2 separate regions of the Homo sapiens genome follow, and region 2 is linked to region 1. Evidence: promoter capture Hi-C in 16 types of primary human blood cells and fetal thymus (Javierre and others, 2016). All regions are on one chromosome and are shown on one strand. The core of a region is centred on a gene start or on the middle of the fragment in contact, and the rest is flanking DNA. Distances in the headings are between cores, read along the strand shown. Region 1 holds the start of RPS13 (ribosomal protein S13). Region 2 overlaps ZDHHC13 (zDHHC palmitoyltransferase 13).

Region 1 (4,343 bases), core at 367-2,866:
TACAAGCTCCAGGAGTACAGATATTTTGCACCCCCCTCCCCCTTTTAAGAGGTGGGATCAGGTGGTGTGGCTCACGCCTGTAATCCCAGCACTTTGGGAGGCCGAGGCAGTGGATCATCTGAGGTCAGGAGTCTGAGACCAGCCTGGCCAACATGGTGAAACCTCGTCTCTACTAAAAATACAAAAATTAGCCGGGCGTGGTGGTGCGGCCTGTAGTCTCAGCTACTCCAGAGGCAGAGGCAGGAGAATTGCTTGCTTGAACCCAGGAGGCGGAGGTTGCAGTGAGCCGAGATCATACCACTGCACTCCAGCCTGGGTGACAAAGTGAGAATCGGTCTCAAACAAAAACACACAAATTAGCTGGGCCTGCTGGCGGGCGCCTGTAATCCCACCTATTCGGGAGGCTGAGGCAGGAGAATCGCTTGAATCCAGGAGGTGGAGGTTGCAGTGAGCTGAGATCGCGCCACTGCACTCCAGACTGGGCGACAAGAGCAAGACTGTCTCAAAAAAAAAAAAAAAAAGAGGTGGGGTCTCTCTGTCACCCAGGAGTGCAGTGGCTTCATCATAGCTCACTGCAGCCTGGGACTTCTAGGCTCTGGTGATCCTCTCACCTCTGCATCCCAAGTATCTGGGACTACAGGCACATTGCGGCTGGCTTTTTTGGGCGGGGGAGTCGGAGAGTAGTATGTTCTCAGGCCCCAGAACCATGTTCAGCACATAGAAGGTAAACATTTGCTGAATGAAGCCACTTGCACGAAGTCACACGCAGCTGAGATTCAAACCACACCTAACTGTGAGGAACTGTGTCAGGCACTCTGCTTAGCCAATTCCAACTCCTCCACTTGACAGCTGTGTGATTTGGGGCTGGTTAGTATCCAGCGGCAGTGTGCCTCTGCTTCCTCAACTGTAAACTGGGGTGAAAGCCATGAAGATTTATTTCAAAGTATTGTGGTCAGAATTAAACGAAATCAGTACATGTGAAGTGCTTACAATGATGCCTCTAGCACGGTGGCGAGACCAGAGTTTTGGCTATTTTTAAAATAACTTTACCACCTACTAGATCCTACAAGTCACACGAGGACAGGCGAAATAGGCTATGTTAGACACAAACACTCACCGATCTGTGAAGGAGTAAGGCCCTTCTTGGCCAGTTTGTAAATCTGCTCCTTCACGTCGTCAGATGTCAACTTCAACCACTGTTATGGAATAGAAAGCAGCCTTAGGATGAGAACCCAGGAATGGCGCCGCAGAACAGCGGTCTCTCCTTCCGCAAAACCGCGCTCCTCATACACGCAAGTTCCTCACCCTGGCGTCGCTTCACCCGAGACAAATGCCAACCCCCTCCCCGGATTCTCCCCGGTCCCAGCGCGCTACTTACAGTGGGGACGCTGCGTCGATAGGGTAAAGCCGACTGGGACAGGCCCTTCCTGGGGAGAGAAGCAGTCTCGAGGTGAGGTGGCGGCTAGTGCCAGAGCAGCCCAGAACATCATCCCCTCGGCCCGCTGCCCACACTCCCTGTCTTCCTCCCACCCCCCGCCCAGCAATCCGGCTTGATGCCCCGAGCTCACCCGGGAGCATGCATGCGACCCATGATGGCGGCGATCAGGCAACGAAAGGAGAGCGAGAGTGGAAACGCCGCAGGAAGCCACCCAACACGCAGGAAGTGACCTCACACGTCCCCGCTTCCTCTCACGCAGGAGGCGGAGCTACGCTGCGCAGCCACCGCCCGTCTGTGTGACTACATCTCCCGAAATGCATTTCAGCGTCGCAAGAGATCGTCAATCCAGCCTCATCCCGGCATGCATCGGTCTTTGGTCAGCCTTGTTGCCAGAGCGGGAATTTGAGGCTGACGCCAGCTTGCGTCGAAATTCCCTGTGGACGCCGAGATCACAAAGATTCGAATGCTGCGCTGGGGGTGGGTATGGAGCAGGTAGGGCTGGAAGAAGCAGCCATACACAGGTGTTTGCTCATTCACCAGTGCCTGGCTTTGTCCTGGCACTAGATCCCTCAGAGTCGGCCCTGCGCCTAATAAATTAACAGATACAATAGCATGTGATGAGGACCACACGGGAAGCCATGGCAGCGGCTACCGCCCAGCCAGCGCTTCCATTTCTCATTTCTAAATCCTACCCTAATCTGTCAGGGGAGAGTCGCTGACGGTGAAGAACCGGTCTAAGGAGTTGAACCAGGTCCCCACGGATGCCTGCCGCCCTCCGCACTCGAATTCCCCTGCGCAGGGCTCTGGGGCGCTGGGCTCGCCGGGGAGAAGGGTTGGGCAGAGGCTTACGGAGCTATGTTCCCAAGTGAGAGAGTTGGCGGGCAGGGAAGAGCCTTGGGAGCAAGACTGCAAAGGCCAAGAGGATGAGGGATAAAATGAAGCATTTGAATTTCATGGGAAAAGGGAACCGTCAAGGAAGAAGCTTTTTTTTTTTTTTGAGACGGAGTTTCGCTCTTGATTCGCAGGCTGGAGTGCAATGGCGCGATCTCGGCTTGCCGCACCCTCCGCCTCCCGGCTTCAAGCGATTCTCCTGCCTCAGCCTCCTGAATAGCTGGGATCACAGGCATGCGCCACCACTTCCAGCTAATTTTGTATTTTTAGTAGAGACGGGTTTTTCCATGTTGGTCAGGCTGGTCTTAAATTCCCGACCTCAGGTGATCCGCCCGCCTCGGCCTCCCAAAGTGCTGGGATTACAGGCGTGAGCCACCGCGCCTGGCCGGAAGAAGCTCTTTTAAGACAGACCTAGCCTGGGCAACATGGCGAAACCCCCTCTCTATAAATACAAAGAATTAGCCGGGCGTGCTCGCTCGTGCCTTTGGTTCCAGCTACGAAGGAGGCTGAGGTGGAGAATCTCTGGAGCCGGGAAGGACATTGCGGTGAGCCGAGATAGCACCACTGCGCGCCAGCCTGGGCAACAGAGCAAGACTCTGTCTTAAAAAAAAAAAAAAAAAAGGAAAGAAAGAAAAAGACTGACTCAGTGCCGGTACACAACAATGCGTTGAAAGAATGGGCAAATGAAGCAGCTTCTTAAAATTTTAAAAAGTAAGCATAGCTCTAGGAAGGAGGGAGGTCAGTGAAATCAAACTCCTGTCGACAAGCTTAAAGTAACTGGCAAGACGCTGGGAAACTAGATACTGAAACATCCGCTCTTAACTTTTAACCTGTCACTATTTGAAATAAAGTTATCAGGGATAGCCGGGCGCGGTGGCTCACGCCTGTAATCCCAGCACTTTGGGAGGCTGAGGCGGGCGGATCACGAGATCAAGAGATCGAGACCATCCTGGCTAACACGGTGAAACCCCGTCTCTACTAAAAATACAAAAAAATTAGACGGGCGTGGTGGCGGGCGCCTGTAGTCCCAGCTACTCAGGAGGCTGAGGCAGGAGAATGGCGTGAACCCGGGAGGCGGAGCTTGCAGTAAGCCACGATCGCACCACTGCACTCCAGCCTAGGTGGCAGAGCGAGACTCCGTCTCAAAAAAAAAGTATCAGGGATAAAGAGAGAACCCTTTATAACAACAAACGGGTCAGTTCTCCAAGAAAACAACACCCCTCCCCCCCAAAAAAGCCATAATCTGTCACTATTTGATTAATAACTTTTCCCAAAGCATTAGGAATTTTAGTCAAATCGGGTACCCTATTTGGGTAATGTTTTTTTCTAGCAAAGTTTATCATTAGCCAATTTTACATTTTTAGTTCAGATATGGAATAGGTATCTCAAATTTAATATGACTCCAATTCCCAAACCATGCCCCTTTGTTTCAGTTAAACACGATCCTGTTTGCTCAAACTTAATACAAACCTAGGCATCTCCGTTTTTCTCTGATTTCCCTCTGTCATCCCAGCTCTACCACAAGAATGTATCATGAATATGTTCCCTTTGCCCCATTTCCACCTTCAGTCCCAGCCACCATCACCTCCTATCTGGGCAACTCTGTAGTATCCACACCGTCTGGTCACGTCCCCACTCTAAACACAACCCACTCTCCACCTAGCAGTCAGAGTGATCCATTAAATACATAAAGCAGATTAATTCATTGCTCCCCTGTGTAAATCCCTCCCATACTTTCTCAATGCACCTAAGATCCAATCCCTGGACCCACGTCTTGCCACTATCCCCCGATTCTAAACGCTCTAACCGCACTTACTCCTTTCTGACTCTACAAGGTAGCAATGTGTTCCTTTCCTGCTTAGAGCCCTTCCTCTTGCTGTTGGCACTGCCTGAAGTGCTTGCTCTTCCTCAAGACCTTTTCAGGTCTCACTTTCACATCCTGGCCTCCATGTCATCTCAGGGTGGCTTTCCCTAAATAGGATCATCTAAAGTAGTCCTTCTTCCCAACACAATA
Region 2 (4,255 bases), core at 1,261-3,760, 2.0 Mb after region 1:
AGGTGGGGAGAAATGATTATTCTGATTTTAGAAATGAGAACAGAGGCTCAGAAAACTGGAATCACTTGCTACAAGTCAAATAGCTGCTAAGTGATAGAGCCAAGACTTCAGTCGTTCATTCAGCAAATGTGTTTTGAATGTCTGCCAGGCACCGTTTTAGGTGCTGTGATAAATTAGTGAACAAAACAGACAAAAACATTACTGCTCTCATTGAATTTGGTTCTTTTGATTCCAAGATCGGTGCTGTTGGATTTTTGCCAGGATTTGCCTATACAATCAGGTCTGCAGTTTCCTTTCTGACCTCATCTTTTTTTTCTTTTTTCAGACAGAGTCTTGCTCTGTTGCCAGGCTGGAGTGCAGTGGCGCGATCTCGGCTCACTGCAATCTCCGCCTCCCGGGTTCATATGATTCCCCTGCCTCAGCCTGCCGAGTAGCTGGAACTATAGGTGCGGACCACCACACCCTGCTAATTTTTTGTATAGTAAGATGGGGTTTCACCATGTTGGCCAGGATGGTCTCGATCTCCTGACCTTGTGATCCGCCCGCCTCGGCCTCCCAAAATGCTGGCATTACAGGCGTGAGCCACCGCTCCCAGCCTGACCTCATCTTTTACTGTCTTGCTTGCCCGGTCATCCCCAGCCACACCAGCCTCAGAGTCTTTCATACTTACTTCTGGAATGCTCTTTCCTTGTGTGCCCACTTGGCTTATTCCCCCACCTCTTTAAAGTCTTGACACAAATGTCACCTCTGTGTGGCATTCTGTGACCCCCGTATTTAAAATTGCAAGCCTTTTCCATCATCAGCACTACCAGCAACACTCCCTGGCCTCCTTCCTTGCTTTAGATTTCTCCTCAGCATTTAACACCATTTAACGTACTTATTGGTCTTGTTTATTGTTTCTTTCTCCTCCACTGAATGTTAGTACTATAGGGACAGTGATTTTTGTCTGTTATGTTCACTGCTGTGTGCCTGGCATCTGGAACAATGCCTAGCACTGGTGAGTACTCTGTAAATACTTGTCAATGAATGAACTTGGAAACTAAACTCTGGTACTTCTGTTAATGAGAACTTTAATGACATGAGAACTTTTAATGAGTGTCACATATTTCTCTCTCACTCGCTCCTTCTCTCTCACTCTCTTTTTATTCGATAATCTGGCAGGATAATGCCTGTCATTGGAGTTTAAGTGTGGTTTTCTAAATCTTGATTTTGGCTTAAATTAATGCCCACTGTAACTTTAACAATTCTTATATACAATTTAGAAAAATAATCTCATTCATGACATCTCTGTGTGAGAAGTATTACATGATCCCTCAGAGCTTAAAGATGCCCTAGTTATTTATTGTGTAAGAAACCACCTCAAAACATAGTGGTATAAAACATGGCTTTGTCATGCTCATGGACTCTGTGTGTCAGGGACTTGGAGAGACTGCAGCAGGGTTGGTTTGTTTCTGTTCCACCATGTCTAGAGCCTCAGCTGCAAAGACTCATAAGCTGGAGATGAATTGAGAGCTGGGGCCAGTATCTATGAGTGTCTTCACTTACATCTGGCAGTTAACTTTCAGTAGAGACACCTACACGTGACCTGGGCCTCTGCACAGTATAGTGGCTGAGTTCCATTAGTGACCATCTAATGAAAGAGCCAGGAAGAAGAAGCTGCCAGTTTCTAGGGCCTGAGCCTGCAAACTGGCACAGCATCACTTCTGAAATATATTATTTGTGAGGTAGTCACAAAGCTCAGAGTCAAGAGGAAGGGACATAGACCTTTACCTCTTGATGGAGAAGTAGCAAATAATTTTGAGGCTATGTTGTAAAAATTACCACACATGTATTCATATGTCTGTTAGATAATTTTCATAATATCTTGTTCTGCTTTTCACTCTTCTGTGGAGGACAGTGAGCTAGCTACATATTTCTTTCTTGGTATCTCTCTTTTTTCCCTCTTTAAATTTTTTTTCCCTTTGTATCTTAATTAAAACAAAAACAACAAAAAAACCATTTTATTCTAGTATCTTGAGGTGGTTGTAGACTGGAATCCTAGGAAGACGAGAGGAAGTAAAATGGAATAGAATCATAGAATACTTGGAGCTGGAAGGCTTTTCAGTGAATTACCTAGTTGAGAGATTCTTAAACTGGCATATAGGATAAGCTTCAGGGCGTTAGTGAACATCTTGAAATTAGTGAACATCTTGAAAAGTTAGTTTACATGTGCAGTTGTGCATTTCTCTTAAGTAGAGAGGCCTTAATTTTGGTAACATTTTCAAAAAGGTCCATGACATTTGGAAGGTTTGAGAACCATTTATCTAGTCTAGCCCTTTAACTTTTCCCATGAATTCAAGACGCAAAAATAATAACTTACTTTCCAAAGGTTCATGGCAAGTTAGCAGAGCCCAGGTGTCAGGGCTCCTGATGCAGTGCATTTTCATTGCTAGTCAGGTGGTCCAGTCATGATACGATCTTGTTTGATTGTTTGCTGCCACTTGGAGTCCACCCATTCTTTAGGTCAAGGTCTGAGGAGTAGTCTGTATTTTACTCTGCTCTGAAAATGGGGAAGGGAGTATATCCCTAACTAGAATATAAGTTCCTTGAAAACCAAGGACCTTGTCTGTTGTTCATTGCCATGTTGCTGTGTCTACAATAGTGCCCAGCACGTAGTAGGCATTCAGTAAATGTCTAGAATGAATGTATTATGGAAGGAACTGTGTCTTATTCATCTTTTATCCCTGATTACCTACTTCTGTGATTTGTATAGGTGTTCTTTATATTTCCCTGAATGAATAATTGATGAAAACTCTTGGGAGTTGGCTGGCATCATGAGAATTTGCTTAGTCTGTTCTGTTACCTTAACATTGTAGGCAGCCATGTAGCAGTTAAGCTTCTTTATCCATGTAGTGTGTTTGTTCATACAGTAAATTCTTTACCAGTTCACAAGTCAATAGTGACTATTGTAATAGCTCACCTTAGGACCATGCAACATGAGACTTAGAAGGAGCTTTATGGGTGTATTGATATGTCCCTTTCACTTTACCAACGTAGAAATGAGCCAAAAATAGAGTAGATGATTCACCACTATCATACAGTCAATGTGGCAGTACCAGGAATTTGGTTATTTGGCCCGTGTCATCAGTGCAATCAGGAGAGATTAGGCTGAGAGAATACTGTGGAAGCAGGGACTCAATGTGTCTTCTTCCCTATCTTTTGAGACTCAAGGTTACCTGTCTTCTTCTCTGTTGTGTCCTTGCCCTCCTTTTCCTGACCTTGCTTCACAGAAAACTTCACAGAAAATAAAAATTTCAGCTCTCTTCTGTTTGAACATGGGGATAGGAGCTGGCGGCCAATTTCATATTGTCGTGGGTCATGTTATTGTAGGATTTGACATGTATTTCTAAATTATATTCATTAACTAATAGCTCAGTATATGTTCATGGCAAGATTTGAATTAAAGATGGTGGTTATAAATCTGCCTCAATTTAGCCTCTTGACAATTTTGAATTTTTTCCAAGGGGGTACTGACTTGTCAGATTGGATTAGATCATCTTTGTTTATACTTCATGTGTCTGATAAAGAGTTCCTGATCTGCTATTTTCTTATTTGCTTGTGCTTATTATTATTATTATTATTACCTCAATTCATGGCTTCTTTGTAGAAATCAGCTTAAGCTACTTGCTCATTTTGGGAGAGGTAATTTAGTTAAAATTTAACAATATAATTTGAAAATAATCTAATATATATTGTAAAATGCTGAAGGTCCTACTGTCAACTCTCTGTTTGTGGAAGCTTTCTCTGCCCTTAGGTTACCTTGTAAACAGAGTATAAGGAGTGACCTGCTTGGCATATCAATAAATGAGACTGCCATCGTTAAAAATTAGTAAAGCTTTCCTGCCAGCAGAGGTGTGCTAAAAAGAAAAAATAAATTTGGTAAAGCTTTAAAAACTCAAATTTGTAAATTTTATTTTTCCTTTTTAAGTAAAAAGATAAAAAATTATTATAATAGAAGCTTTAACATTTTCTCACATTACCTAGTGGGTCACTGCATATATGGCTTTGAGTGTACTTTCCTCACTTTGTAGATGATTGACTTCAAACACAAGCTTTGAATATAGTCATTTTTAGGTTTTACTTTGATCTGCATGCGGGTAAACAATGATGACATGAACGGAAGATATCTTCTGTTTTCTAGTTTCTTAAAGTTGCCATTTAATCATATATAATCACATATTGCCTGCTATTATTATTTCACTCTGTCTCTGACATA

Evidence for each region. Contacts are between HindIII fragments. The CHiCAGO score rates a contact against its expected background, and 5 or more counts as called.
Region 2: a fragment that was not itself captured here is called in contact with the fragment with the promoter of RPS13 in region 1 in 1 of 17 cell types (total CD8 T cells); the score reaches 5.1 in total CD8 T cells.

Annotation. Positions count from the first base shown.
Region 1 is chr11:17,076,051-17,080,393 of GRCh38, forward strand. It overlaps RPS13 (ribosomal protein S13), which reads right to left and starts at 1,617. Exons shown (of 6, transcript NM_001017.3): 1 at 1,569-1,617; 2 at 1,379-1,427; 3 at 1,118-1,196. The coding sequence starts at 1,591. RefSeq lists an enhancer at 1,651-1,850. The HindIII fragment of the contact is 8,959 bases long and covers 1-2,418 here.
Region 2 is chr11:19,118,808-19,123,062 of GRCh38, forward strand. All of the region lies in intron 1 of ZDHHC13 (zDHHC palmitoyltransferase 13), which reads left to right. Among named protein-coding and RNA genes, the nearest start is that of ZDHHC13, 3.8 kb to the left of the region's middle. The HindIII fragment of the contact is 726 bases long and covers 2,148-2,873 here.